Linked DNA regions of Homo sapiens: all the other regions are linked to region 1. Evidence: promoter capture Hi-C in 16 types of primary human blood cells and fetal thymus (Javierre and others, 2016). All regions are on one chromosome and are shown on one strand. Each heading gives the region's core, a stretch centred on a gene start or on the middle of the fragment in contact. The rest is flanking DNA. Distances are from core to core; before and after follow the strand shown. Region 1 holds the start of DUSP10 (dual specificity phosphatase 10). Region 2 has its middle 100 kb from the start of LINC01705. Region 3 holds the start of LOC124904518 (a long non-coding RNA gene). Region 4 overlaps LOC124904518 (a long non-coding RNA gene). Region 5 overlaps LINC01705 (long intergenic non-protein coding RNA 1705). Region 6 has its middle 37 kb from the start of LINC02257.

What was found. Contacts are between HindIII fragments. The CHiCAGO score rates a contact against its expected background, and 5 or more counts as called.
Region 2: a fragment that was not itself captured here is called in contact with the fragment with the promoter of DUSP10 in region 1 in 4 of 17 cell types (megakaryocytes, M0 macrophages, M2 macrophages and 1 more); the score reaches 7.4 in megakaryocytes.
Region 3: a fragment that was not itself captured here is called in contact with the fragment with the promoter of DUSP10 in region 1 in 1 of 17 cell types (megakaryocytes); the score reaches 5.4 in megakaryocytes.
Region 4: a contact is called between a fragment that was not itself captured here and the fragment with the promoter of DUSP10 in region 1, in 2 of 17 cell types (erythroblasts and M0 macrophages). The highest score is 5.2, in erythroblasts.
Region 5: a fragment that was not itself captured here is called in contact with the fragment with the promoter of DUSP10 in region 1 in 1 of 17 cell types (megakaryocytes); the score reaches 5.1 in megakaryocytes.
Region 6: a contact is called between a fragment that was not itself captured here and the fragment with the promoter of DUSP10 in region 1, in 1 of 17 cell types (M2 macrophages). The highest score is 6.0, in M2 macrophages.

What each region holds. Positions count from the first base shown.
Region 1 is chr1:221,739,194-221,744,277 of GRCh38, reverse strand. DUSP10 (dual specificity phosphatase 10) reads left to right here and starts at 2,189. Exons shown (of 4, transcript NM_007207.6): 1 at 2,189-2,297; 2 at 4,491-5,084. The coding sequence starts at 4,534. RefSeq lists silencers at 953-1,432, 3,153-3,202 and enhancers at 1,206-1,843, 1,653-1,852, 2,183-2,372, 1,844-2,481, 2,482-3,119 and 1 more. The HindIII fragment of the contact is 7,400 bases long and covers 1-5,084 here.
Region 2 is chr1:222,161,300-222,166,383 of GRCh38, reverse strand. No RefSeq gene overlaps it. Among named protein-coding and RNA genes, the nearest start is that of LINC01705, 100 kb to the right of the region's middle. The HindIII fragment of the contact is 3,203 bases long and covers 807-4,009 here.
Region 3 is chr1:222,119,865-222,124,948 of GRCh38, reverse strand. It overlaps LOC124904518 (a long non-coding RNA gene), which reads left to right and starts at 4,067. Exons shown (of 2, transcript XR_007066886.1): 1 at 4,067-4,156. The HindIII fragment of the contact is 7,998 bases long and covers 1-5,084 here.
Region 4 is chr1:222,095,563-222,100,646 of GRCh38, reverse strand. The region is part of intron 1 of LOC124904518 (a long non-coding RNA gene); the gene reads left to right. Among named protein-coding and RNA genes, the nearest start is that of LINC01705, 39 kb to the right of the region's middle. RefSeq lists a silencer at 1,673-1,873. The HindIII fragment of the contact is 2,581 bases long and covers 640-3,220 here.
Region 5 is chr1:222,053,827-222,058,910 of GRCh38, reverse strand. LINC01705 (long intergenic non-protein coding RNA 1705) reads left to right here. Exons shown (of 3, transcript XR_001738485.2): 2 at 233-497. Among named protein-coding and RNA genes, the nearest start is that of LINC01705, 3.0 kb to the left of the region's middle. The HindIII fragment of the contact is 9,452 bases long and covers 1-5,084 here.
Region 6 is chr1:222,012,535-222,017,618 of GRCh38, reverse strand. No RefSeq gene overlaps it. Among named protein-coding and RNA genes, the nearest start is that of LINC02257, 37 kb to the right of the region's middle. The HindIII fragment of the contact is 3,129 bases long and covers 751-3,879 here.

The DNA of each region.
Region 1 (5,084 bases), core at 940-3,439:
ATAGCCTGAAAGCCCACCCGCTCCTTAGAGTTGTCCAGCCTTTTTGGACCAAACCAATGTATTTCTTAAATGTATTTGATTGATGTCTCATGCCTCCCTAAAATGTATAAAACCAAGCTGGACCCCAACCACCTTGGGCACGTGCTCAGGACCTCCTGAGGGCTGTGTCACAGGCCATGGTCACTCATATTTGGCTCAGAATAAATCTCTTCAAATATTTTACAGAGTTTGACTATTTTCGACAACAGACGTTACACAAAATCCTCTCCTATGTAAGACTATCGGATGTGTACGTGATGCCCGTCGTAACACTGGTGTGAAAAGCTGGACTGGGGGGTATGTGCCTGCATGTAAGTGGAGGTGCCCAAGGGGATTTCTCTTCACAGCTCATTGAGCATAGCTGACTTGCTAGCTATGGTCTGACACCTCCTGATTTCAGATCTGCCCTGAAAACAATTACATGAATATGCCCCTGCTACTCAGTATACTACTAGGCTTGGAGTCTGAAGTAGACCTCCAAACCCCATCCAATCAGGTAAGGGAGAAAAACGATAGCCCAACATTCCCTAGTGCTCATAATGTATTATTCCATTATTTCACTTTTTATCCCTTCTCTCACAGATAAGAAAAGAAAAAGCTCTACTTCTTTAGGGTTCTTGGACGTAGACTCTCCACAGTTCATCTGGGGTTGTTCATCTCCACTTCTTTTTGTATCCCAGGGCAACTTTCCTGCAGTTTCCCTAATGAGAATATTTTCCGGACTAGGCAAGGGGCGGCTTGCCCCGCCCCCTACTCTTCTCCCTGATCAGGAGCTGCGGCCAGCTACCTGGCGCCGGCCAAAGTCAGGGGAGCGGGGAGAGGCGGCGTCACCTCCTCCACGCTCCTCCGGCCCCATTCAATCTAGCTATTTGCACTCGGCTCTGGCTCTTTTCCGCCAGCTGCGGCTGTTCCAGAAGCGCCGGGCTGCCGGTCCTGGCCTCGGCAGGGGCCGTGCGGGACCGAGGGGTGGCGGCCGAGGCATGTGGGGCGGGTGGGTTGCGCGCTGCTGGCACGGCGCGGGGACCCAGCGCGCCAGGCGGGAAAGGGGGGCGGCGGCGGGCGGGGACCCAGACCCGGAGGGGCAGCGGGCGCGTAGCGGGCCCCAGGACGCCCGGCCAGGGGATTGGCCTCTGCACCGCTGCTCAGGGCGCGTCCCTTGCCGCCTCTGGCGTCGACTCAAGCCTCCTCCTCCGAGCAGCCCTCAGTGGCGCCGCCTTAGTGCTCTGGGTCGAGCCCCGGGAGGGTTAGCCTGGGGACGGCAGGGGCGTGACCGTGGCGCGGAAGTAGGTGAGCAGCAGGGCGGCGCGCGGCGGTCAGGCCGGGACAGCCAGAGGGGCAGCGACATCTGCGGGCGGGCGGGCGGGAGGCGGACGCTTCCCGGGCGGAGCAGGGCCCTCCGGAGGACGCAGGCCGCGTCGAGGCTGAAGGGCCTCCCTGTCCGGGACGGTCAGCTGCCAAGTTCGGGCCCTTAGCGCGTGGCCCCGGGCCGCGGCTCGGAGCGGAAGCGTCGCCCCTGGCTGCGCGCTCATGCTGGTCCTAGCGCAGAAGACCCGGCGAGGTCCGCGAATTTTGGCTTAGCGTTTGTCAAGTCACCTCGAGCGACTCGGAGAGAACCCGGCTTTCCCACTAGGGACGGTGATCGCAGTCTCTTTCCTTTAGAAAGTTACTCCGATACTTTTGATCATCTGTCCATAGTAAGGAGGAAAAATAGCGTGGTTTGTCCCCGGGTGAGGGAGTGTTGGAGGATCCCGTCCAGTGGGAAGAGCCAGTTTTAGCGGAGCAGCGCGTCCAGCCCGCTGACACTTCAGCCTGGTAAAGGGTTAACTGCATCCTGCCGGTTCGGTTTACATGTAAATAGAGAGCAGCTGCTCCGCGCGGCCCCGGCTGGCTCTTTTAAGTTTTTGATTGGTTGCCAATGACATCACCGCCCGTGTTTTAACACCGAGGACCCAGAGCAGCTTCGGATAAACCCTCCTTAAAGAGATGAGGCCACGCCTTCTTACCCGCCCCCTAGGCTGCCCATTGGTCGCGGGGCTCTGTGAGGTAGCGGTCGGCTTTCTCCGGATTCTTATTGGCCCAACCCGCCGTCGGTCGGCGGCGAGTCCGCCCCCTCAGAACCTTACATTTACAGTGTAGCAAAAGAGAAAGTAACTATGTTGCTGCTGGAGATCAATGAAGCCGAGTGAATGGGGGCTGAATGTGCGAGTCCATAGCTGAAGAGGAGCGCCAGATGGTGGAGGAATACACTTATTTATGAAGTAAGTGGAAGTCACCGCGACTACTCCTGAGAGCCCGGGACTGGAGGTGGAGGATTGTAAGGCGGTGCTTGTGTGAGTGTGAGTGTGTGTGTTTGTGTGTGTGTATCTGTGTGTGTGTGAGAGAGAGACAGAGACAGAAAGATAGAGATGCGATGCTGACGGAGGAGCTACAGCAGGTAGGGTTATAAGGTTCCGGCCGTTGGCTCCTGCTACCCTGTGCGTTTACTCCCTGCAGTCTACTTGGATTTGGGGCGAAGAAAAAATGAGGTTTGTTGGGATGCTTTGCGGCAGTTTTAAATGCTCGGGGCTCATTAGTGCGCTGTGTGCCGAGGAGTGAAGCGGGGGGCGGGGGGATGTTAAGTGCTCCAGGAATGGGGAAGAAGCATTCTCTAACCACTTAATTTTCTCTCCAGCTCTTGCCTAGTGGTGGAAGGGAGAGGGGATAGCTCAGTATTTCTCTGGGAGATTTTCTGGGCCAGACTGGATGGTTTCACGGGCAGTATGTACGCCCGACCCTCTGCTGCAGGGATGCAGGTCTCTCTATACACTCCGTGTGTGTGTGTGTGAGCCTTGAACTCTGTGTGGAGGTGGGGGTCCCAGCGCGTGTCTCTGTGAACACGCTTATGCGTCCCTCTCAGAAGAAATGGTATGTTGATCCTGGACGTGTCCTACCAGGTAACACAATAGCAAAGACTTTCACCGCTTGGTCCAACCGGGAAACAGTTATAGCTTCTGGAATAGAACTCGCTCTTCAGAAAAAATACTACGCAAGGGAAGGGGGGTTGACTCCTTCGCTCCCATCCAAAGGTGGGTGAGAGAAACCCGAGTCGTTGGAGATCTGCCGACGTGATGGGTGCGTGCCCCGTGTGCGCGCGTGAGTGTGGATTCCGCCTGTGACACTTTGGTTCTGTGTCAGAGAATGGTGACGGTCGTGTGTAGACGGATGAGAATGGTGACGGTCGTGTGTAGACGGATGATAGATGGCATTTTTCCTGATAGCTCTTAAAGTTCGTTTAGGTGAGCGTCTCTTGGCGTGGGGTTTGGCGTCTTTGCTATGTGCATGTCTAATAGAAGAAGAAGAGTTAGCAAGCCTGAGTTGTAGAGTGCCCCTGTGCCTACAGGAGGAAGGAGCTGTCTTTTTGCAGACACTCTGAAATCAGAGATAGATCCGGTGGGCAACAATTCACTGTCCCTTTCAACGAGTACAGGCTAATTGGGAGGTCCTCTTTACGGAATCAGTACTCTTGAAGGGGGGATATCTGTATGGGATTGAAACCTTATACAACGTGGCTGCCTCCCATTGAGAGAAGCTCTAGGATGCACAGTCTGTGCCAGCCAGGGAGATGAAGAGGGGAGGAGAGCCCAAGTTGTCCTTTCCAGGCAGGAATGAGGGCGGGGGCAGGTGAGAGAGCAAAGGGTGAGGGATTTGCCGGGGCTGGGGTTTCCAGGTTTCCAGATCTGGCTCCATGGCTTGAGATTTCGTTTTAGGACACCAGTTAGTAGTGAAAAGGGGAAATGCAGATTAATTTATAAGAGGCCAAAAGACAACATGTGAGGTTTTAGTATGACTATGTTGTGCTTTTCAAAGGACCCCAATAGAGAATGGAAGGCAAGAATAGCTCCAAGTTAAAGAGATTCACTTAAGGGGATTTGCAGAAAGTTGACATCCACCCTGATGTATATTTAGCTGCTGTACCTTTCTGTGAACCATGCCAGTGCTCTTGGTTACCCCTTTGCCTTTGCAGCGAGTGAGGGAATTAAATGGCAAGCATGCAAGGGTGGACAAATGGGTCTTTCTCAGATGTTTGCAGTGTACTTCTGCCCGAGAGCTGAGGTTCAGAATAGATGCCTCTTAAGAGCCTCCCTTCTGTCTTCAGCTTTTCTAATTATTTGTGCTTATACCTTCTCTACAGCTGAACTTTTATGTAGGTCCAGGAAAGGTTGTTCATTAACATTTACAACATTACATCCAAATTTAACCTTAGACTTAGCAACCAAATTGATTGGAGCCCTCAGGTTTGCATCCTCTTTGAATACATAAAAATGAATTTCAAGTTTTGATAATGGTATGATAAAGGGCAATTAGGACGACTTTGCTCAGAGGGATGCAAAGGTCTTTCCCAGGGATTGGATGAGACTGCCTTTTGTGTCACGTGACTTTATTCTTTCTTTCCCCCTTCCCCTTCTTTACAGACTGTCTTGAGTTCTTCTTGAATTGCCAGTTTTCAGCCTCCTCATGCCTCCGTCTCCTTTAGACGACAGGGTAGTAGTGGCACTATCTAGGCCCGTCCGACCTCAGGATCTCAACCTTTGTTTAGACTCTAGTTACCTTGGCTCTGCCAACCCAGGCAGTAACAGCCACCCTCCTGTCATCGCCACCACCGTTGTGTCCCTCAAGGCTGCGAATCTGACGTATATGCCCTCATCCAGCGGCTCTGCCCGCTCGCTGAATTGTGGATGCAGCAGTGCCAGCTGCTGCACTGTGGCAACCTACGACAAGGACAATCAGGCCCAAACCCAAGCCATTGCCGCTGGCACCACCACCACTGCCATCGGAACCTCTACCACCTGCCCTGCTAACCAGATGGTCAACAATAATGAGAATACAGGCTCTCTAAGTCCATCAAGTGGGGTGGGCAGCCCTGTGTCAGGGACCCCCAAGCAGCTAGCCAGCATCAAAATAATCTACCCCAATGACTTGGCAAAGAAGATGACCAAATGCAGCAAGAGTCACCTGCCGAGTCAGGGCCCTGTCATCATTGACTGCAGGCCCTTCATGGAGTACAA
Region 2 (5,084 bases), core at 1,159-3,658, 420 kb before region 1:
AGTTTTAAACATTCTTTAGATTTTGGAGTCACCAGCTTTGCTCTGGCATATCATTTTAGGGTTTTCAAAGAGAACAATTGGTTTTAACTACAATGTCAATTGAACTGGCCCGAGGAATCGAGGAATCGCTTTCCTTCTTACATGTCCCAAAGACTTCGTATGAATTAACCCTGGACCCAAGAACATGAATGACCCACCTGGCTTTAGCATGAAAGCTTTCTGTGCCATCCTTTCTAACATCCCACCTTGACCCACACTAGGCTTTACCTCTTCAACTCTCAGTAACACAAGACTAGGGCATTTCTTGTTGGCTGGTGCCTCAGCTTCTGCTTGGACCTCTCTAACCTTTCTGTCAGTTCCCCACATCCTTCTTGTATCTCGTCCCCCTCTTCTTGCCTCCAGCTGTTCCTGAACAGCTCTGAAACTCCAAATTTCCTCAAGCAGAGAAAATTTAGCCCTACTGCTTTCTCCTTCTTCAGGACTTCTTCCAGTTCCTGGCCTGGAGGAAAGCTTAACCTTTCACACAAAGCAGATGTTCAGCTGGGTTATTTTTCTAAAGTAAGAGCAATTTGCACTGCTACGAGCCAGGATATTCTCTAGAGTGCCAAGCAGCACAATGCATTCTTGTTTTCGACATCCATTTATTCTCTCTGTTCCTATTGGTGTCTGTATTCTTGCTATTGGTTTTAGATTGCAAGCTCTCAGAGCCTGGATTCACATTATTTCTCTGAGACTTCCCAGTATCCCCTCCTAAAAAGGTAGCATATCAAGTGCTTAATTGCTTTTTTTAAAAAAATGAAGAAGCTTAAAATAGGTTGAAAACTAAGTGGCCCTTGTGAAGGTAGAGCTTGAGTGATTCTATTGGGGAGCCACTTCTATTGGGAAGGTGCCCAGCTCTGAGAGTTCCAGAGCATCTCTAGAGTTAAATGTGAATGGGAGTGTCTCTGAACAGACCGCTTTCTCAAATACTTGGCAAGAAAGGAAGAATTAAAGATATTAAGTACAACAAAAACAACTCAGCCAATAACCCACCTATAAGATTCCAAACATTTGGATGGAAATATTACAATTCTGAAAACTATCCACCACCTTGAATGCCGATTACTGAGTTCTTTTCACAAATCACTCACTTAAAAATATTTTTAATTTTGGGGGGTACCTAAGTGGCTATATATGTATTTGTGGGGCACATGAGAAATTTTGATACAAGCATGTAATGCATATTAATCACATCATGGAACACAGGGTATCCATCCCCTCAAGCGTTTATCCTTTATATTATAAACAATCTAATTCTACCCTTTTCATTATTTTAAAGTACACAATTAAGTTATTATTAACTATAGTTACCCTGTTGTGCTATCAAATACTAGGTAAATTTGATCCTATTTTCTTGTACCCATTAGCCATCACCCTCTTCCTCCAAGCACCCCACTACCCTTCCTAGCTTCTGATGACTGTCCTTCTATTCTCTATGTCCATGAGTTCAACTGTTTTGATTTTTATATCCTACAAATAAGTGAGAACATGCAATGTTTGTTTTTCTGTGCCTCGCTTATTTCACTTAACATAATGATATCCAGTTCTGTCCATGTGGTTGCAAATGACAGGATCTCATTCTTTTTTATGGCTGAATAATACTCCATTGTGTATATGTATCACATTTTCTTTATCCATTTGAATGTTGATGGACACTTAAGTTGCTTCTAAATCTTGGATATTGTAAACAGCACTGCAACAAATACAGAGGTGCAGATATCTCCTTGATATGCTGATTTTCTTTCTTTTGGATATATATCCAGCAGTGGTATATATGGTATACCTGGACCATATGGTAGCTTTATTTTTAGTTTTAGTTTTGTTTTGTTTTTCTCTTTTGAGGCAGAGTTTTGCTCTTGTTGCCCAGGCTGAAGTGAAGTGGCGTGACCTCAGCTCACTGCAACCTCTGCTTCCCGGGTTCAAGTGATTCCCTGGCCTCAGCCTTCCGAGTAGCTGGGATTACAGGTGCCTGCTACCATGCCCAGCTAATTTTTTTTGTATTTTTAGTAGAGACGGAGTTTCACCATGTTGGCCAGGCTGGTCTCGAACTTCTGACCTCTGGTGATCCATCTGCCTCAGCCTCTCAAAGTGCTGAGATTACAGGCGTGAGCCACTGTGCCCAGCTATTTTTAGTTCTTTGAGGACCCTCCAAAGTGTTCTCCGTGGTGGTTGTACTAATTTACATTCCTACCAGCAAGGTACAAGGGTTCCCTTTTCTCCACATCCTTGCCAACATTTGTTATTGCCTGTCTTTTGGATATAAGCCATTTTAACTGGGACACAAATAACTCACTTTGTCTGGATTTTTGGGCATCTGGTTTGCTACATGAGAGTAGGAAAGAGTGGATTTTGCTCTGAGGGTGAACAGTTTTAGAGAGGTGACTTCCCACAGCTCAGCAAAGAGAATCAAACAGTGTTGCTGGGCACATCATGATTAGAGTAATCTGAGATGATTATCTTCCAGAGAGATAAAGAAACAAAATTCTGAGTTCGTCAGGAAAAAATTATGTAAATGCATAAAAAAATCATATAACAATTTAAATCCTAGCCCCACCATGAGTTGAAAGAAGAACCAAAATTTGTATACTAATTTGAATAAAATGTTTGATAGATTGCTTTAAAAATTGGGACTGTATGATATTGATGCAGAGTAGAAATGTAAGAAAAGAAATTGCTACTTATATTTATGTTCAGAAAAGGAGAAAGTTTTTTTTTTTTTCCCCATGCATAGACTATCAGACAGTTATAAGCACAGATATGGGAGCAGCCAGAATTATTGAGGGTGTATTTGGACATTGGAAGGCAAGTTGGATTGCAGAAGATAACTTAGAACTGGAAAGGGGAGGCCTGGGTTCTGCTGTAAAGCTCTGCCACAATCTTGCTGTGTGACAAGGGACAACATGTTTTGCTTCTCTGGGCCTCAGTTTTCTCTAGTGTGAAATGAACACTTTATGTTAGAAAGCCTCGAATTTATTTTTTATCTTTTAAGTGTTAGAATATTGTGATTTTATTTATTTATTCATTTTAGAGACAGGGTCTTGCTCTGTCGCCCAGGCTGGAATACACTGGCATGATCATAGCTCACTGTCTAGCTTCAAACTCCTGGGCTTAAGCTATCCTGCCACTTCAGCCTCCTGTGTAGTTGGTACTACAGGCACATGCCACCACGCCCAGCTAATTATCTTTATTTTTGTTTTTAGAGACTAGGTCTCACTATGCTGCCCAGGCTGGTCTTGAACTCTTGGCCTCAAGCAATCCTCCTGCCTCAGCCCTCTAATATGCTGAGATTATAGATATGAGCTACTGTGCCTAGATAGGATATTGTGATTCTAAATATGACAGCTACAAGACTGGTTTTGAAAATCCCAACCTTCTGCATTCTACTGGCTTCAGTGCTAATTTCTTTCTCCTTTTTTTTTTTTTTTTTTTTTGTTATTCCACTAAACAATAGTTAGTGAAGAACAGGGGTTCTCCAACTTTAGTGTGCAACAGAATCACCTGGAGGGCTTTAAAAATGCAGATTAATGGGCTCTGTCCCCAGAATTTCAGATTCAGTATATCTGGGTTATGGCCCAAGATTCTGCATTTTTAACAAGCTCCCAGGTGATGGTGATGTTGCTTGTGCCAGGACCATACTTTGAGAACCACCACACTAAATCATGAGATGCTAGGCCTTTACCTGCAGAGAACACAGAAAAGATCAGAAATAACTGCTCACCCTAACTGCTCCCTGCTGGGGCATCTAAGCCCAGGCTTAACTCTCTAGCTCGCTGTTTCCTATATGGATCCTCAGGAAAGATAAAGATGAAGGAAAGGCAGGGAGATAAAGTTTAGGCCTTTTCTACACTGGCTGCCTGGACTCTGGTGTCCAAGTGGGCAGAGAGCAGAGGAAGATTAATGGTTGGTTGCATGGATTTGGAAGCAGGATGCTAAGGGGCAAACTGGGTAAACTGCTTGTCTTCTCTAAGCTTCAGTTTCTCAATCTACAAACTGGATCTCCTGATATCCACATCAGAGGGCTGCTGACAAGCTTATATGAGGAAATGTACCTAAATGCATAGAAGCGTAGACAGTCACATAGTGAGGTACTCAATGGAGAGTAGAAGTTGTTATTATTATTAATTTGTGGAGCATTTTCAAAGATTGTCCTTGTAAGGAGACAGGGGCACTGTGTGTTAGGACAGTGTGTCTTAGACTAGGCCTGAACTCTGATGAGATTAAGTTTTCTGGGCAGGTCCTGGTTACAGTGGAAACTGACCCCTGTGCTAATAGCACATGTTATCCACACCACCAGAAACAGCAAGAGTGTTCCAGATACAGTTTACTAGCTTCAATTTTGGTAGCCCCTGTCCTCCAGTTATGTTCATATAGAGTCTGAATATGTTCATCTATCTTGACTCTAATTCCCAAGTGGTGCTTTGAAAATGGAGAAACACTGTTCATTTGATGGTGGATTTAAGATGAGTCATCCCCATTTTCGCTGGTTTTCACTTGCGAACAGGCAGTGGTTAGGGCATAATTTGATCCTCTTATGTTTCAGCATGTTCACATTATTCATTTTACGTAACAACTAAGCACTCTTTATGGGTAATCACAAAATCCAGCCTTCTGTGCCTATATATGTTTCACACAGTGATGTTGAGAGCAATAATTAATAATGTTTATTAGGAACTCGCTATGTGTCCAGACTTGAGGTAGGTGCTTTAGGGGAATAGAGAATAAAGGTTTAGGATAAACTTTGTCTTCTTTCCTAAGGCTTTTATCATAGTATGAGCTGGGCAGATAAGGTAAGAGTCTAAACTAGTTATCAAGCATTTGTTGATGAAAAACATCAAATTGTCTAAAATATTTAAAGAGGTTTATTCTGAGCCAATATAAGTAACCATGCCCTGGAATATGGTCTCAAAATGTCCTGGAAAGTGTGCCCAAAGTGGTCAGGTTACAACTTGATTTTATACATTTTAGGAAGATAGAAATTACAGGCAAAGACATATTAATAAATCAATACATGCAAGATATACATTTGTTCAGCCTACAAAGATGGG
Region 3 (5,084 bases), core at 1,239-3,738, 380 kb before region 1:
AACTATACAAACTTGGTTGGCATTGATATGGTCCCTTGGGTTGTTAATGTCCTTCTCACTCTTGATAGACTGAACTTTAGAGGTCAGAGGCATACCTTGCCCTTTGTATCTCTCCTGCACCATCCCACATTTAGTTGGAGCTCCTCCTTGTGGATTGAGCCAACCCCTGCAATGACTCTTTTCTCTCCTGCTTGGAAAAGGGCTAATCATAAAGACAGATGGTAGCCCCACTTTCTAGTTGGATTACAAACCTTGGTGCTCTTCTGGGAATGCCTAATTGTTCTTCACGGGTAGTTAAAGCCTGCTTTATTTGTTTTAGCACTAAATAACATCTCTGATTTGTAGGAGTTCAGTCAGGCAGCCAGCCATCGGGTAGACTGGGTAACTGGCAGTGGCAGCTCTCTACCACAGCCTGGACCAACAGCAGCCCCATGGCCTAGACTTTCTTACCTGTCCTCCTGCCAGCAAGGGTTCTATGGGTGCACCTACAATGACAGCTGGGTACTGACCTTCCACCAGACTGGGTGCTGGGGAAATAGAAAACACCAACACATTGTCCTTGCCCTGGAAGGCTTTGTTGTGTTGTCAGTCTCAACCCAAAGATTCAGGCTGATTGCCCCTGGACCGTCCTCTGCTTGGGCAAGATTGTGGATGCTCCCTGTCAGGTGGGGGTGGGGTGGGACAGCATGGAGGCCTGGGTCACATCATGGCATGGGCTGCGGAGTTAGAGGGACTGACTTCCACACTAGCTATTTGACTTCTGTGATGTGGATGTTCCTTACCTGTAGAATATAGAATTATAATAGCTGCTTCCTGTAATGATGAGGAATAAATGAGATCATGGATTTAAAGCACTGGAAAGAAATGTAGTCAATGGCAAGCCTTCAATAAATGGCCACATCAAAATCATGGTGTTCTCACATCATAGCCTCTTGGTCTGTGCCTGCCCCTACTCCCATCTGTCTGGCCTTTTGTACATTTTGTCTGTTATTCTCTCTGACTCCCACCCTTCCCCACGGCTTGCCAGCTCAGATATTTGAACCCCTTCTCTCTTTCCCTCTCTCTCTCTCTCTCTTTTTTTTTTTAAGAGACAGAGTCTTGCTATGTTGCCCATGCTGGACTCAAACTTCTGGGTTCGAGGGATCCTCTCACATCAGCCTCCTGAGTAGGTGGTACTACAGGCACATGCCACTGTGCACAGCTCTTAACCCTGTTCTTACCTCTCATAGCTGCATGCTCTTGTCCTAACTTCCGCAACTACCTTTTTCAGTTGGCATTATCTTGGTGACCCCTGCTTCTCTTCTGTCCAGAGGCCTGTCATCAAAAGGAAATGGTGACGTCTTTCTTCCATTCCACTCCTTCAAGAGTCTTGCCATTATGAGAAAGGTGCATCCACTTTAAAGTGGGAGAGCTTTGACTTAGGGTTTGGATTCCTTGTCAATATTCAGCCATGTCATCTCACAGCATCCTTAGAAAGGGAACAATTTTGGTCCATTCTGCCCTAAAAAATTACAGCTTAATACAATTTCTTTAATGTGTGTGAGCCAGTGATAAAAGTTCTAATCTCTGCAAAGCATGAGAAGTGTTAATACAGCTTGGGAAAATACCCGCACATCCTCAATTTCCTGGCATAATTCTGTCCCTTGCCAGCGCAGAGCTTATCTCCAGAAGGCAGTGGGTGCCAGAATGACACTTTTTAGACCAAGAAATGGAATATATTTTTTCTTTGCCTGCAGTTTCCTTTCAGTATTTTGGGGAAGCAATGGGACTCTCAGAGGGGAGAAACTTGATTGGTTTGGCTATCTCCTCCTTCCATGTCCTTTCCTGCTTGCATTTCTTGCAGTTTTACTAGTCGTTGGCATCCTATAGGATTCTAATTTTGAGAGAAAAAAGGAAAATGCTTGAAAAGACCTTCCTAGAAGGAAACTAAACTATGTAGCTGGTGAGCTGGACTCTTTAGTACCCAATTATTATGGTCACTCTCTCCTTGTATGTCCTATTAGGTTACTTAATAGGACTTACCTATACACGGGTTCAGTAAGAGCAGGGGCCATGTCTTATTTATTTATGTGACCTCAGCACCTAGTCTATTTATTGGGGAGGCATGTTGAGAGAATGAATAAATGATTGAATTAGAAATAGGTCCAAGAACAAGCTCGTCTTTAGCTTTAATTGGCTTTCCCATGTAATTAGGTGTTTAGGTAGGTTTTTATTCACTTACTAGACAATCTTTGAGCATCTCCTGTGTGATAAACACTTTGCCAAATGCAGAGGAATCAAAGGTAAGACAAGGCCCTTGTCCTGGAAGAACTTGTTATGAATTCTCCTGCTTTCCTCAAAACTATTCCAGATCTGTAGTGTTTTCCTTTAAAATGTTTTTCTATTAAAAAAAAGAATTAAAAATTCAAAGTAATGTAAAAATCCATGTACCCTGGTAACATTTGGTCGTACAGTATATGCTTTAATTTCCTAAAAATAAAGTATTATCTATAATACCGAAGTTGCCTATGTTCTCCTTAGTCCAGTTTTTCTCCCTTCCAGATCAACTACTGTAATGAATTTGTGGTATATTCAGTTCACAATTTTTATGCTTTTATTACTTAGCAAGTGAGTATATAATAAATTATATCGGAGATAAATATTTTTGTAAATATTAAGCCAAGGTCTTTAATTTTCATCTTTTAAATCTTAAATACTTGAAGCTGGCTGTTGTATTCAGGGCTCACAGTTATTTCTTCTCAGCACTTTGAAAGGCTTACTGTGTTCTTTCCATCAGCCAGCCCCTGCCTTTCTTCAGTTACGGAAAATTCTCAGCCTGTGTCTTTTTGAATATTGCTTCTCACCACTCCTCATATTCTCTCCATCTGGAATTCACATCAGGTGTATTTTGAAAACTCTCATTCTAGTATCAAGGCTTATTAAGTTCCCCCTTTCCTTCACATTTTTATACTTTTATCTCTGTGTTTGATATACAGGACAAATTCCTTAGTTGTATCTTCAAATTCACTACATCTCTTTCTGACTGTATCCAGCCTAGAGTTTATACCATCTCTTGCACTTTAATTCTAATTACTACATTTTCGCAATTTCTGGATTTAAAAATTGGTTCTATTTTATACCCATTTGTTCTTGATTCATATCTCCCTCTTCAAATGTTTATTTTAAAATTATTTTGATATTGCTTTATTTTTTATTTAATTGGGCATGATTTTGTTTTCCAATTGATGAGTGAATTATTTTTCTTAATATTCATTTTCTTCATGTACTTTGGAATTATTGACTGTAGGGCTCATCTTGAGTAGGAGACTCTTTTTTTCTCTGCTTATTACTCTGCTTACTACTGCCTGTGGTGAAACTGGGCCTAGGGTCCAGATCTCAAAATATCCATCCTACCAAATGTTTACTCAGCACTAACAAATATCTGCAGGTGTTTTATTCCTTTCTGTGGTGTCTTTGGTTGATACATAACTAACATTTCCATTGATAACTCCTTCAAACATATAGCATAATAACACATTAAATTTTCTGAATGGAAGCCATCCCACCTACAGACTTGTAAACAGGTCATTTAGAAAGGATGAATAGCCCGAATTTTTAAAACATTTTTAAAAATTTTTAAAAAATCACAAAGCAAGAACTAACCGAGATGAGACAAAAGATTTATTGTTTGGCATACTTTAGGATTTAGAATCTGTTAATGTTGTTGTTGATGAGGTTGAAACTAACTTCCAAAACCAGGGTGAAAGAAGCAGGACATGTGGCCCAGGCTTAGGTATTTGACTCCTGGATAGAGGTTGCCCTGGCCAGCCTGGCCTTTCCTCTCCAGTTTCTTCACTATCAAGGCAACTCTCTGGCATTCATTTGGCCAGCTGTTTTTGTTGTTGTTGTTATGCGTTTTATGTTACTATGTTTACTCTAATGTTACTATATATTATGCCTTAAATACAGACTGTTTAGACTAAGGCAGATACATTAAGACTAAGGCAGATACATTAAACATAACATATAGGAACAAAGTATCATAGATTGGATAGCTTATAAAGCAAATGAAATTTATTTCCTACAGTTTTGAGTCTGGGAAGTCCAAGGTCAAGGTGCTGGCAGATTTGGTGTCCGATGAGGGCCTGTTTCCTTTGCAGATGGACCTCTTCTCAAGGTAACCACACATGGCAGCTAGCTTTCTGTGGTCTCTTTTTTTTTTTTTTTTTTTTGAGATGGAGTCTCACTCTGTCGCCCAGGCTGGAGTGCAGTGGTGCGATCTTGGCTCACTGCAAGCTCCGCCTCCCGGGTTCACACCATTCTCCTGCCTCAGCCTCCCGACTAGCTGGGACTACAGCCGCCCGCCACCAGGCCCTCTGTGGTCTCTTTTATAAGGGCACTAATCACAACCATGAGGTCATGAGGGCAGGGTCCCATGATCTAATCATCTCCCAAAGTCCCCAGCTCCTAATACCGTCACCTTGAGGGGTTAAGATTTCAACATATGAATTTTGAGAGTCACAGGCATTCAGTCCATAGCAGTATTACTTGCCCACAGTAAAATTCACCTATGTTAAATGTATATTTGATAAATTTTGGAATTGTGTGCATTTTTTTAACCAGCAGCAAAGTCAAGATATAGACTATCTCTCTCACTCTGAGAAGTTCTTTTGAGTCTGTTAGGAATTAATCCCTCTCTCCATGCCTGGCCCCAAGAAACCACTGACTTGCCTTCTGTTACTTGAGCTTTGCCTTTTCTAGAAATTCATATAAAAGGAATCATAGCTTACATAGTTTATTGTGTTTGCTTTATATCACTTAGCATAACGGTTTGGAGATTCTTCCATGTTGTTGTGTGTATTAATATTTTGTTCCTTTTTATTGTTGAAAAGTATTCTATAGTATAAATATACCACAACTTCAGATAATCTATTCTCCAGTGGAGAAACATTTAGGTTGCTTCCAATTTAGGGCAACTACAAACTATACTGCTATGAACATCAGCATATACATCTTTGAACACATGTTTTTATTTCTCTTCTGTGAATTCCTGGGTCATACGGTAAGTGTGTGTTAAGTGTATTAAGACACTGACATTTTGTTTT
Region 4 (5,084 bases), core at 681-3,180, 360 kb before region 1:
TGGCCACTGCAAGGATGTTGGCTTTCGTCTGAGTGAGATGGAGCAACAATGCAGGGTTTAGATCAGAGGAGTGACATGATTTGAGCTGGGATTTAAACAAATTTTGGAAAATAGGGACCACGTCTTAGTCACTTTTGTAATGCTAGTGTCAGAAAATTCTTTGGAACCTGAGAAATGCTTAACAAACTTGAGCAGAGTTGCAGTACATTACTAAAGACAAGCAAAAAAAAAAAAAAAAAAAAAAAAAAGCACTGTCCCAGGTCATTGATAAGAGCACTAGTTGTGTTTGAGGTAGAAGATAAAAAGATTCGTTTGGGGAATATTGTATTTATTATTTTAAAGTCTTAATATTTACATTCTGTCCAGGACTTCAATGCCCACATGCCAATAGCTCATCCCTCAAAGGGTATCTGTCATATTGATAAAACCTCCTACAGCTCAAGAGTCTCTGTGTCTACCTTGCACCTCTACCTGGCCAGGACTGATTGGCTTTCAACAATTTAGTTTCCAATCTTCAGGTTTTGAGAAATGTGAAGCACATTCAGATGTGAATTGTATTGATAATCCAGGCCATTATTATTATAATCCCTAGGAAATCATGAAGCCAAAAGAGCTTTTTCATTCAGCAACAAAAAAGCTTTTATCCTCTATCCCCAGCTGACATACTTTCATAGAGGACTTGTCTTTGATCTGCCCTCTTTGTTTTTTGTTTGTTTGAGATGGGTTTGTTTCTTCATTCGTCAAGGCTGTGAGCTCACTAAAGACAAACTTCAGGAAGGAAAGCAAATGAAGTTCTGATTGTGAATTCCTGGTCTCTTATGGCAATTCCGGAACTGCCCCTTTTCAAAAGGATCCTAAGTACTTTGGTGGGAGCCTAGGTAGAGTTTGCAAGAGGGGCAGCCTGTTTTAGGGCTGTAGCTTGGATTTTCAGGTTTAAACATTAAAGTTTCTGCCTTGTCTTTGCTATGCATAAGCTGATGACCTGGGCAAGGCAACTCATCTCTTAGCACAAAGGGAGGCAGAAGAAGCATTCACTGAATTCCATTTATGGGCTCACACTAGGCCAGGTGCTAATGATGCATGATAGTCTAACCCTTATAACAACACTATGAATTGAATATATCTCCTTCTTACAGGAAAGGCAACAGAGGCTCAAAGAGCTTCAATAAGTGGCTCAAAGACATATGGCTGATGAGTGTTAAAACTAGAATCAGCATGTTTCCAAAGACCACACACTTGCCCTGCCTCCTTCTGAACCTGGGCTTATTCATCTCTAAGATGAGTTCCTTAGTTTTCCTTCAAGGTCTTTCCAGCTTCAAAAATTTGTGATTGAGTGAGGTTGGATTCTAACAGCACAGGAATTCATTATATAGGGCTGGAACTCAGTTGGGTTCATAGCAACCCTCCTCCTTCTTCTAGCTAAGACTTTCCATTCATAAAGGTTGGTTCCCACCTCCAACGTGACACCCCAGTCTCACTCCTCATCACTCTTCTTTGCACTGCACTAGAAATTCTTGCTTTCATCTCCCAAACTTGCTCATTTGCCTCTTCTCCTTCTGCAGAAACCTCTTTCTCTTTTTCTCCTCACATAGTTTTTCCCTCCTCCAACATAGCTCTCTGAAAAACTTACCTTCTCTTTTTCCAGGCATATCTTATTTCTATCTGAAAGGTTTCCTGGTTAAATAAACAATTCGAATGGCTTTGGAAAAGTCACTTCACTCGGCATTTAGTTCTCATTTGTGAAGTGAGACTGCTGTATTACATGGTCTCTGTAGGCTCTTCCAGTGCCAAAATTCTCATTACAAATAAATCTCGAATCTCTTTCTTTCCCTAGCAGCTGTGGGCTTTGTTTCTACATTAGGTCAATGTGCAGTCTCTACCATACTTCTTTGTTTTTATTCCTGGGTTTTTGCCACATGCAGCATTTAGGTGGTTCTAACTGAACTGTAAACTCTTGAAAAGAGGGGACCTTGTGACTTCCTTCTTCCTAACCCCTCCACTCCTATCTCTGGTCCACAAGACTAATCCACAAACTCAGGGGTTATTCAAATAATGCCATCAACTGTTGGACAGATGACAGATGGCAAGTGCCATCCACAGCCTTGTTTTTCTGGTGTCCCTGTCATATTGTCGACATTCAGCTTTTTCAAAAATATCTTTAGTTACTCATTAGTCTGAGAATTAGGCCTTAGCTGTTGGCTATTCTATGAATGGCTCTTTCGGTACAAACTAACTGAATCTGTGTCTATGCCCTTAATTGGAAAGATAAATTTAAATGGAACTGTCTCCTTGTGATGTCCTCTGAATTTCAGAAATGAAATTTGGGTCCTCTCAGTCTGATGGAATGCATAACACTTCCAGAGTTATCAGGAACCTGTCAGAATCATTATGGTTAGATATAAGTGTTTTTCTAAATGCTGCTATCCATGGAGTCTGATGTTTGAATTGCAGTGGTGGAAGACAGTATTTATGCAGTCATTCATTCAAACATCATTTTATTGAGCACTGACTATGTGTCAGACACTGGGGTAAAAGGATAAGTAAAACTTGGTTCTTGCCCTTAAGAGGTATTTGGCCAAAAAGGAAAGGGGTACTAAAACAGTTACTATAATGCACAGAGATACACTGTTATAAAGTATATAAGAGTATAAACAGACAGGGAGAGTCTCCAGGGATGATAGGAATCGAATCAAGTTGAGCAGTCAGTCTGGTCAGTCTGTTTTACAGCCTCCTGCCCTGCAGCCTGTGTGGAATGCAGTCACCTTGTTGGTTTAAACCAGGTCCTGACTGATCCTGGCAACTTCTAGATGAACTCGAGTGAACTTTCCTCATTACTATGCCAAAGTCTCCACCCTGGGAGGAGCTATACCTGCATTACCATGACATGCAACCCATATGCTGGCATGATGACTCATCATGTCTGTGCAACTGGGACCCCTCCTCTACCTGCCATGATGCACCCTTCTCCATTGCCGCATAAAACCCTCCTGTCCCCTTCTCTCCGGGAGACACTGCTTTGGAGAACACTCCCAGTATCCTCCTTACTTGCACCAAGTAATAAAACTCTTATTGATCAAAACCTGTGTTCTCGTGGAGTTACTCACCAGCTGAACAAATCCTGTTTTATTGAGGGTAACAGAGGTCCTGAAGAGGTAGGAATTGGATATAACCAGAGGCATCACAGACGATGCCACAGAGTATGTGAATTTAGGGCTAAGCTTTAGTAAGATCTGGCAGCAAAAGGCAGAGGGCATTTCAGGGAGAGAAACACCCAAAGGCACAGGGTAAGTATGGAGAATGAGGGCATGGGTGAAGGGACTGGCGAAAATCAGATTAAAAGGTAAGCAGGGGCCAGATAGTGAAAGGCTTTAAATGCCCTACAGAGGAAGCTCTATGCCAGTGGCTCTCCTGCTGTAGTGGGCTGAAGGCTTATAAAGGGACTTGGCTGAACATGTAGATTTCTGGGACCTACTGATTTGATTCAGCTGGCTTGAAGTGGAGCTTAGAAATCTGCATTGTAAGCCAGCCTCCTGGATGATTCAGATGTAGGCAGTCTGCTGGTAATCTTGTGCAGATATTGTTGTCAGCAGTGGAAAATACAAAGAGTGACATACAGCCTCATACTGGGCTTAGAAAGACAAGTCTAGCAGGTGAGTATGGCAGCTGAGTTGAGGGAGAAAGGCTCATCGTGATGTGGTCAGTTAGCATTTCACTGTGACGGTTCACACGAGAAACGCCCAATGCCTCAACTGTGGCAGTAGGCAGTGGTAATGCAGAGACAGAGGTGAGAACTCTTGCAGAGGGAGAATCCTCAGAATTCAGCAAATGAATGAAAGTTGAGGGGAGAGAGAGAGGGGAGAATCACAAGTACATTTAGTAGTTCTCACAGGAGTAATTAGGGTCTAGTGTCATTAATGCAAAGTAAAATATGTTTGAGTGAGAAGATAAAAAGGTTGGGTTGGGGCATATTGAGACTTCAGTGTCAGTGGAAGCTACAACTAGAGATTTAATTCAGGTCTTCTCCAGGTTTGCTTTTGGGGAATATGAATATATGTAGGGGATAGTTGAAGCCATGGGATTCTATGAGACAAAGTGATAACTTTGGGATAGAGACCAGAGAAAGTCAAAGACAGCGCCTGAGGCACCTCTGCCTTTAAGGGAAGAGAAGATGGGGCGGGACCTAGAACTAACTTAGGTGAGTGAATCTCACCTAAATTAAAGGGAGGGGAGAATTTAACTGAGGACTTTTTCAACATCAGGCTGAGACTGAGGCACAGTTTGCCCCCTAGAGGCAAGGAGGGGAATTGCGGGGAAGAGCCAGATGTGCTGAAAGGCAGAGGGGGGAAGTCCACACACACAGACGAGGGCTAAGAAGTGAGCTAATGGACGTGTCAATATATGTTTGTATGCACACGCATATACCTGTGCATGCATGTGTGCACCTGGGTGTATGTGTGGGCATGAAATTTGTGTTCATTATGTGCTACATAGGTAAGAGCCTTCTTTGTGACAGGTATGTGACAATCCTGTGAGTGAGGTGGGGGAATAGTAGCCAAAGTGTGCAGGACACCAAGAGGTCAGAAATCAAAGAGCAAGGGAAAGTAAGAGCCAGGAGCTGTGGGGCAGGGCTGGAGGAACTCCAGGGAGGGGCGCTGACACATATTGGCAGGCCGGGGGAAATTGAACATGGCCAGAATGAGACTCAGCAGAAGACAACAGTGCCAAATGCAACAGAGGGATTTACAAAACTGAGAAATGTCCTGGAGATTGCCACTTGGAAGGTCATTGTGACCTTTGACAGCGTGGTTTCTGTGGGGTCTAACTGAAGAGTGAACAGACGGTGAGAAGGTTGTTTGAGCAAAAGGAAGGAGAGAGCTAGTGACTCTGAAGTTAGAATCAGTGATGATACGAGATGAGGCAATTTTGCCCATTAAGCATATTGGTGCATCTTGGGGACTTAAAAAGATTTGTTTTGGACGACTTGCACTTCAAAAATTAGTCTTTTTCCTAAGAGGATAATAAAACTTAAAAGTAGCAAAACATGTTTTTCTGCAATATTTAAATAGCTTTTGATCCTGTCTGTT
Region 5 (5,084 bases), core at 1,117-3,616, 310 kb before region 1:
ATTGAGTCAAGGACAAAAACTGAAAATTAACAACTGCTTGAGGGTCTGGCTTCAGTTTGAGAAAGTGCAGAGCTTGGTGGCTCAGTCCCTTCAATCTCACATTTGTTAAACTGACGAACTGGTGTCCTGTCTAGGATTCTATATTTTCCTACATAAGTTAGGTGTATTTTCAGAGGAATCTGGAGCCTTTGTTGAAACTAGCAGTTTTCTTTTTTGTTTGTTTGTTTTTTAGGTTGAAATACACACTACCTGAAGCTGGATAACTCATGAACTCTGTTGACAATTATATTCTTTGTCTTTTTAATTAACTCATTTGGAGTTGGTGTCCTGAGGACCTAAGCCTAAGAATCTTCAAGATGGAAGAGTAGAGTGAACAATGAATGAGCCAGAGGGCTCTTGTCCTCTGTGTGCAGCTCTGGGCAGCCAGCAGGTGGATATGGGACTTGGCCTGCTGGAGGGGCCCTGGCAAGAGGAGCTGGCAGGAGCAGATGGCAAAGGTCAGTGACTCCACAGTCCTTTTCCCCTACTGCGTAAGAACCACACTAACATAAAAACAACGAGAGTAAAAAATCAAACAAAAAAGATTTCTGGAGGATATCAGAAAAAATATACAAGACAATAATAAGTTATCAATTAAAACAAATTAAGGCAAAAAAATTAAATATTGAAAAAGTAGGTCAGGTCCTGGGGTACAGGCTGGGGATCTTATTGCAGAAATTCAGATTATAAGGTAATTAAACCAGAGTACTATGATTGAGCCGACAGATTTGAGGACAGAAAATACAGACCTGGGTAAATGATTACCCCATTCCTTTTGCCTCTAGGGAGAAAATACACCAATTATTTAGAGGAAGCCAAGCTCTTCCTATTACTTGGCTCCTACAGAAGGTCTCCCCTGGGCTTCATGCACTGGGCATAGAGAGACTTAGTGGAAGGTGTTCCCTGTGGCATCTGCACATAAAAAAGAAGTGGGTTTACTAAGGCAATTAAAGAGTCCCTCTTGGAGGCCACAGCCCTGATGTGTTCCTGAATGACAATAAATTCTGTCGGGAGCACAGCAACATGGTGTCAGGGTGTAGGTCTCTGATGGCTTATCCAGTGCTAAAGAGAGTGTTAATGACACACTTCAGCCAATAACACTATCGTGTAAGTCTTAGAAATATTTACCTTCAAATTCAAATCTCATCTCTGCTGGCTCCTACCTTTGTGATTTGGGGGCTCTCTGTGATTCTCTAACCTCTCTGAGCCTGTTTCCTCATCTAAAAAATGGGATGATTGCCTCATGGGTTTGATTTGAAGATTACGAGAAACATGGACCCAAAGTGCTGTACATGGTGCCTGTCACATAAGACACAAGACACAAGACACACTACATCCCAATAAAAGCCTCTCATCCCACAAGAAGTCTGCTCCAGAAAAAGATGTAGCATGGTGATTTCCAACCTTGTTGAGTACAAGAAATCTTTTTGTCATCACATGTTTCTCAGACTCGCACATGACAGGAGTTTTACTTTCAGTACCACTCAGGGAGAAAATGAATGACTGTCACACTTCAAACTGAGTTTGTAATTGGTTAATCCTAAGAACATGCCCACGCACTTGCAAAGGCGTAATACTATGTGAGGGAGGTGTGTGATCCTCAGGCTTCTCAGCATCACCCAGGGCCCCACCAGGGCTCTGGGGCCCATGGCTTTACCAGGACCAGATGTGGTCCTTGTGGGTCATGTTGTTGGTCTATACCCCTTGCTTCTGCACTGGCCCCACTCCTCATCCAGAGCAGAGATTGAGGAGGAGGTAGGCCACATGCTCCTGGGAGCTGAAGCTCTACTTTCAGGAATTAAGGCTTAATAGGGTCAATGGGCATCTGAATATCCCCAGGGGGGATTCATCTACTTTATAAGCATATGTACTGGATTGAATAGTGTTTCCCCATCCCCAAAATTATGTCCACCCAGAACCTCAGAATATGACCTGATTTGGAAGTAGGGTCTCTGCAGATGTAAGTTAGTGAAATTCAGACGAGGTCATACTGGATTGGGGTGGGCCTTATAAGAAAACCATATAAAGACACAGAGAGACACAGAATGCCCTGTAAGGAGTGAGGCAGAGACTGGAAGGATGCATCTATCGGCCAAGAAACACCAAGGCTTGCCTGCAGCCACCACAAGTTAGGAGGGATGCACAGAATAGATTTTCTCTCAGAGGATCTAGAACGAACGACTTTGCCAATACCTTAATTTCAAACTTATGGCTCTCAGGACTGTGAGAGAAAAATGTCTGCTCTTTTAAGCCACTCTGTGGTATTTAGTTATGGCAGACCTAGCAGACTAATATACCATATATTCTCATTCTTTCATAGTCTTTATTGGTTGCTTTCCCCCTTATGACTAAAGTAATAAATATCAATCATAGAACTTTTATAAAATACAACTATGCAAAAAAAAATATATTATCTCTTACTCCACTGCCTGAAGGTAAGTGTTCTAAACATGTTGATCTTTCTTTGCCTGGACTTCTGTGTACAAATGTGTGTGTGAATTATCATTTTTTAAAAATTTACATGATCAATATGTGTGCTCCTGCATTTCACTTCTGAGAAGGTAAGAACAGAAAACACAAACACGTGTAACTCATTTCTTTTTAATATCTGCAGGTAACATTCATAACAACTTTGAATCTTTCCCTATACCAGAGAGAGTGGCCCACTTGGCAGGGAGGCCCTCGCATTTGTGATGGACGGATGCTGGCAGATGTCTAGTGAGTTTAGCACTTAGCTCTAGCTTCTGTTCAACTCCACAGTGCCCAGGAGATAAGACAAAATTGGTAGAATGTAAAATCCTTGACAGCCTCTGGGTTTTAGGACTTAGCATGTCTTTATCATCAAGTCTGTTTACAAAGAAAAGTCTTCTGAAGGTTTTCCCCATGGAATAGAGTTATTTCAAAACGGCATGTGGTGAAAAGTTACATGAGCTTCCAGCAGCCTTGTCCGCTCCTGACAGGTTACAGGGAGAAATTGTTCTTGGCAGCCCAGGTTAGCCCCTTGAAGTAAGCCTGTTAGGTCCCTGGCTCTGTCGCAGTGTTAGCTGTGTCTGCCACTGATGGCAGAGACAGCAGGAGCGAGACACTGAAGCAGAGTGCAAGTCCTTGGATGATGAGAGCGGCAAGGCTCAGCACCCGCCTTTCCTCGGACGTGAAGGGGTCTGTGTCCTTCCCTTAACATGGAGCCAAATGTCTAGTGTTGGCCTGAAGGAGCTCAAACTAGTGCAATAAAGGGGTATAGAGTCTCCAACTGTGAACCTGAAAATCTAGACAGGTCTTAGTTAATTTAGCAAGTTTATTTTGCCAAAGTTAAGGACATACACGCCTGTGACACAGCCTCAGGAGGTTCTGATGACATGTGCCCAAGGTGGTCGGGGCACAGCTCAGTTTTATACACTGTAGGGAAACACGAGACACCAGTCAATATGTGTAAGAGGTACATTGGTTCAGTCCAAAAAGGTAGGACAACTTGAGGCAAAGGCAGGACAACTCCAAGTGGTGCAAGGGCGCCCAGGTCACAGGTAGGTAAGAGAGAAATGGTTGCATTCTTTTGAGCTTCTGATGAGCCTATCCAAATGAAGCAATCAGATATGCATTTATCTCAGTGAGCAGAGGGGCGACTTTGAATAGAACGGGAGGCAGATTTGCCCTAAGCAGTTGGGCTTGAGTGATTTTGGGGCCTGAGATTTATTTGCCTTTAACACAACTTTCCACTACCTAAGGAGACCTCACTACCTGTTGATGTAGGAGCTGCGGACTAAACCTGTGTTTGTCTGGTAGCTAATTATCAGCACAGAGGTGGTGAGGCTGCAGTGCCTGACCACACCCAGCATGCCGAGGCGGTGGGCCTAAGGGTTTTCTTTCTCTCTCCCCCTACTCCCTGCCTCCCTCTTTCCCTTCCTTCCTTCTTGCTTCTGTTCAAGTAATTTGAATTATTTGCCAAAATATAAAACTTTGGAGATTTTGTGCCAAAGAAGGAGATGGATTCTTTGGTTTGTCTAGAAAAAGCAGAAAACTTGGCATCACTTGCCTGCTTTCCTGCATAGCAACTATGGGTCAAAGCTGAGTGGTGGCTCTGTCTAGCCTGGACCTGTGTTGTCCACCTCTCCATAGCCTCAGGCTCAGCCTCCCTCTATTATTGCCTGGGCCCTGGGGACATGCTGAGGGTGCCCTGCCTGCATGAACAGAACCTGCTGTGTTCCAAGTCATGTGATCACGTGCCTCCCCGGCACGCACAGAGGCCTGGAGGCCCTTGCTCTGGTTTCCTTCCATGAATGCATCTCACCCTGGGAGTCACACAAGCCGCCTGACCTCAGGTTCCTCATGTGGGCAAGAGGACTGGGCTAGATGGAGGTTTTCCGACTTTTCGTAGCCCAGGGCAATGCTGAGGACACCTTACTTAGAACTGGTGGCATAGCAGCTGCTGAGCACTGGCAGCCTTCTCCCCTAGATTCAGGCAAGAAGGGGGATGCATTGTCGGTAGGAAATTCAAAACTCTCCTAAAACTTACTGAAAGTCTGCCTGTTACTTTTGACCACTCAGTGACAAAATACCCTACCAAAAAATATTTTGCTGGTCTGAGTTCTCAACAATTTATGTGGCTGCTGCTGAGTTTTCATAATATATAAACTTAAACATAGCATGGCTTATTAATTATCCTTTAAAAAACGTTGTAATTTACATAGAGGTTTATTTGAAAAGCTCACAGTTAGGCAGCCACCCCGTCACACATGAATATTTCCCTGAACATGTTTGCTTGTCAATGAGTTTGTAATTGTTTAGAATCCTTCGCGTGCTCCTAGTGCAGCTCCTGTCTCCAGGTACTGCAGAACTACATTTTCCTGCACTTAAACAGTAGTTTCAAAATAAATAATAATTGCGCAATGGACAGAGAGAAGAAATAGAACTATGTTTGCATAAGTTGCCATTCTTTGTGACCACTTGGAATTTTTATTTGTTTAAAATTTTAAAACATTGAAACACTATAGACTGTAAGGTGTAATATCTATATATGTGTTTGTAACTGTCTACAGATATTCATGTGA
Region 6 (5,084 bases), core at 1,066-3,565, 270 kb before region 1:
TGGGGTTAGCTGGGTGGTTCTTCTGCTGTTGTCTGAGGTTGTCTGTGTGACTGTAATCATCTGGCAGTTTAATTGGGCCTGAAGAAGTTAAGATGGCCTCATTCGAATGTTTGGAGCTTAGGTACTGGTTGGCAGCTTGACTCTCTCTACATGGTTTTCATCATGTGGTAGTCTCTCTCAGGCTTCCTTACATAGTGATGGGAATTCCAAGAGGGAGAAAATGGAAGCTTCAAGGCCTCATATGTCTTATCCTCAAATGTCATACAATATCACATCTGCCACTTTCTATTGGTCAAAGCAAGTCATAGGGTCAACCCACATTCAAAGGGTCAGAAAATCATTTTCATCTCTTGATGGGAGGAGTGACAAAAATCACAATGCAAAGACGTATGGACACAACGGGACATGATATATTGGGGGCCATTATGAAAGCAATCTGCACACTCTCAACTCCAGGGTATAAAGCCAGGGGAAATTGTGTACATATTGTGGCATTACCACAGTGGAAAATGTTAGCCACATGACCCTAGCCAAGAAGGACATACTTGGCCTTGGCAGTAACTGACCTTTTGAAGTGTAGTAACCCCATTCCTTCTGCCAAACCCCAAAGCTCTGGATTGATCAGCTCTTCCTTGAGATTCTCGGTTCTTTCAGACTTACCTCTAGAACTACCCATGATTCTTTGGAGTAAACAAACTTAATGATCCCTTTTTGGCTTGAAAGTACATGACACAAATGCAGAAAGAAGCTTTGCCTTCTTCTTCCCCCAGTGACATTTCTTTTATTTCTTTATTACACACAATCTTCTGAAATATAACTTTGTCTGTCTCATTTTCCCCAAGGATATATTTTTGAGTAAAAACCAAAGAGCCCCACTGAATGGCATTCAGGCTGGGTGGGGCAGGCTGCACCAAGACAAACACTTACTCAGAAAAGACATACAGAATGGAGATACTGAGACCTCCTCTTCCCAGAAGGAAAATATGGGGAGATGAGCTATGTACATACAAGTTATTCTTTGCAAATTTAACAATCAGATAGTTTAGTCTCACTCTACCAGAGAAGAATAAATAACACTGGCAGAGAGGACCAGATGTTTCACATGAGTTGCATTCCCTCCACCTGGAAGGAAACATTAAAAAAGGAGACAAATTCTTTCAAACTTTGGCTCACTGAAGCTGTCTTGGAATACTATTGAATCATGTCACTATGATTAGCTTGTTCAAAACAAGGAAACTTGAAGAAGGTGCTCTAAATCAAGGGCAGATGGCAAAGACCTTGCACACCATTTAGGATGCACTAGTAGTGCTCTTTGAAACACCATTAATAAAGATTCTGAGACCATGTATTGGTTGAACATTACATTCATTTAGCAATGTCTGCCCTGGGTGCAGTAATGGGAATGGTGCCAAGTGTACCCATATTTACCAGCCATGGTACAGATTATAGAATACGTCCTCGTGTTGGCCTGGTACACTTGCCTACTAACTTTTCAAGGCTTAGCTCAACTGTTTGCCTACCCTCCAATCTAACTTTTCAGGATCACCATTCATACCTTTCCCCCCGATATCCATATACTTCATGTCTATTATACCACGTTACTTACATTATGTCATTATTTGTTTAAGCTGTATTCTTACTTAGTTTGGTATCCCCAGTGCCTAGCACCATGTTGGCACAATTGAGAACACAATACCAGCTTTTTGAATTTAATTGGGCCTCTTCCATAAACTTTGCATAATTCCATTTGGCTGGTGCATTTTGCAGACAGCTCTGGCAAGGCCATGAACATTAGCTTCAGTTTTTTCTGCAACAAAGTAGGTTCTTCTGGGAAGAATCACAAGTAAAATAGGATTAGAGGGGGTTCAGTCCATAGAGTTTGATGTGATACACAGAATACCGTGAGCCACAGTTCCAAAACTGAATAAAAAATAAAAACAGGATAGTTAAACCTAACCCTGAAGACCTGAGGAAGTTCCAGCTTAAACAGGAAGCAAGAAGATGTGGAGAAACTAGAACCTTGTATACTGTTGGTGGAAACGCAAAATGTTACAGCCACTTTGCTGAATTTTTTGTTGTTTTTTTCACTGGCGAGAGTCATAGTGTCTCAGCAGGTGCAGCCACTTTGGAAGATGGCATGGAGGTGCCCTTAAAAACTAAAAATACAGCCGAGCGTGGTGGCTCATACCTGTAATCTCAGCGCTTTGGGAGGCTGAAGTGGGAGGATTGCTTGAGGCCAATAGGTCAAGACCAGTGTGAGCAACACAGAAACACTCTATCTGTTTAAAAAAAAAAAAAAGAATTACCATAGGATCTATGATCCAGCAATCCCATTTCTGGGTATTTACCCAAAGGAATTAAAGTCAGGATCTTAGAAAGATATTAGCACTCATGTTCATTGCAACACCAGTCTAGTCACAATACCTAAGATGTGGAAACAACCTAAATGTCCGTTGATAGGTGAATGGATAAATACAATGTTGTACATACATAAAATGGCATATATATTCAGCCTTAAAAAAGAAGGAAACTCTGTAATATGCCACAACACAGATGAACCTTGAGGACATGATGTTAAGTGAAATAAGCCAGTCACAGAAAAATGAATAGTGCATGATTCCACTTATAAGAGGTGTCTAAAATAGTCAAATTCATAGAATCAAAAAGTAAAATAGTGGTTGCCAGGGGCTGGGGGGAGGGAAAATGGGAGTTACTAATTGACAGGCATGAAGTTTCAGTCAAGCGAGATAAATAAGCTCTATAGATCTGCTTTATAACATTGTACCAATGATTAATCACAGTATATTGTATACAATTTGTTAAGAGGGTAGATCTCATTTTAAGTGTTCTTATCACAAAAATAAAACAAAAGAAAATGGATGGACGCATCTTTTGGGCAGTAACATAGTGATGGGGCTATATTGACTGTAGTTTCCAAACCACTATGCAATTTTATCACATGGCATAGTGTCATATGATTAGCCTTCAGCAGTCTTTCAAAGTGCAAAGTGACAATTTCCTATAGTCAAACCATGTGTAGAGGAGAAAACAACGTTGTGTTGGAATCATGGAGCCTGGCTGTAGTTATAGTTCTGCCCCTTGATAGCTGTCACAATGGAAGGCTTGTCACAAAGGTGAGCAGCACAGGGCCTTTCTCTTTACCTGTAAAATGGAGAGGGTGATAATACCCCAAGTATCTCACAGGCTTTGTGGCAGTCATGGAACATTGTATAAGAAAGGAAGTCTCCAGGTCTACTGAGAACTATATGAAATTTGTATTTTTTTCTCATGAGCTAGTAATTATGGTGGTTTTTTTTTTTTTCAAATATTTGAGTGTTAAGAGTGTTTCCTTTTTTGGTTGTGAGCATATGACTCTGAAAGCAATTCAGTTCCAAATGGAGTATTTCGGTTTTGGAACAGCAGTATTGTCGTTTTCTCCTGTTCAGTATTGAAGCACTGGCTCTTCGTGCATATATTTGTAAGTTGTCATCCTGATCATGAAGAGATGACACTCAATGAAGAGAAAGAAAGCTGAGTAAGCCCGGGAAAGCTAACAGGGCTAAATATGTGTAAATTGGGCACCCCCTTTCTACACCTTGATTTTCCTTAGACTTTGTGCATTTCCCTCCAACCAGGATTAGTCTGTGTGAATGATTTTATTTGCAAACCTCTGCTAGGAACCCTTACCTGAACACTGGACCTGCTGGTTCTGATGGCCTGGTGAGATAGCTCAAGTTCCTGTGCACATGGAAATTAGCTACAAGGAGGTGAACATTTGGCATCTAGCAACTTTCTTCTGCAGTCTGAGTCTAGGGTGAGATTTGTAGTGTAACCGGATGAGGGGAAAACAGTGGATAGGACTAGCTTCTGTGTAAAGCTTTCTTGTTTATCCAGAATGCAAATATTTTTGTCTTGAGTTCTGCAGAGCAGTGCTTACCAAACTTAAATACACAGGGGAATCATCCAGGGGTCACCTTAAAAAGCACTGATTCTGATTCCATAGGTCTGTGACGCCACCTGAGACTTCTGTCTACATGATTCACAATCTCCATGACCATACTTGAAAGAGCAAGGCTATCTAGACAACAAGCTTTTTAAAAGAGCCTCTTCCATTCACAAAATTTTCTACAACCACACAACTCCAAACACCACAACCTTCTTCTTCCCTGGTAGATGCTAAGTCTGCTTGTAAGTTAGGGGTAGAAACCTGTCCAAAGCAAAATATATACCAGTATCTGCAATGCATTTTGTTTATTTGAATAGAAGGCAAATAAGAAGCACAGATGGGAGAACTGTCACTCACTGCTGAAATACAGAGTTCTCTAGCTAGACAGCTCAAGAAGGGATAAATAAATGGCCCCATCAAAAAACAAATGCCAGAATGCAACCTTTAAAGATGTCAGCCACGATTTATTCTGTTTTCTTATTCTTTATTTAATTAAGCACACCCAATCACTTGTTAGAATGAGAAATATTTATTTGGAAAGTTTGTATACAAGCCTCTGCTTCTCTATCAGTGGAACTTAACAATATTAGGTTGGTGCAAAAGTAATTGAGGTTTTTGCAATTAAAAGTAATGGCAAAAACCGCAATTACTTTTGCACCAACCTAAATTTAATTGCAAAAACCTCAATTACTTTTGCACCAACCTAAATAGTTTGTTTCATAAGTGTAAATGTTATTGACTCTGTCAGAAAACCTTTTACATTTTGGGGGGAATGGGGAAGTTGCTATATTTGTGTGATGCTGAAATAAACTGTTGGAAATGAAAAAAATAAAATTACACAAATAAGTTGGTTATTTGCCTCTATGTCAGTAAAGTAGTCTGACTGATTTTTTACTTTTTACTTTCAGCAAGAATTAACTTTTGGTTTTGGTATATGAATATCAAGCTTCACTCTCTCCCTTCTACCCTCAACACACAATAAAAATGGCACAATCATTGCCACTCCTTTTATTCCAAGAGTTGTTGTAAAATTTGGCAAAATCATGGAAGTACTTCCAAAAAAATTACTGTAGTCACCTAAGAATCACTTCAATTTCTTTATCTTCTTTATCATCAGCTGGGTTAGAAGCATTAACAT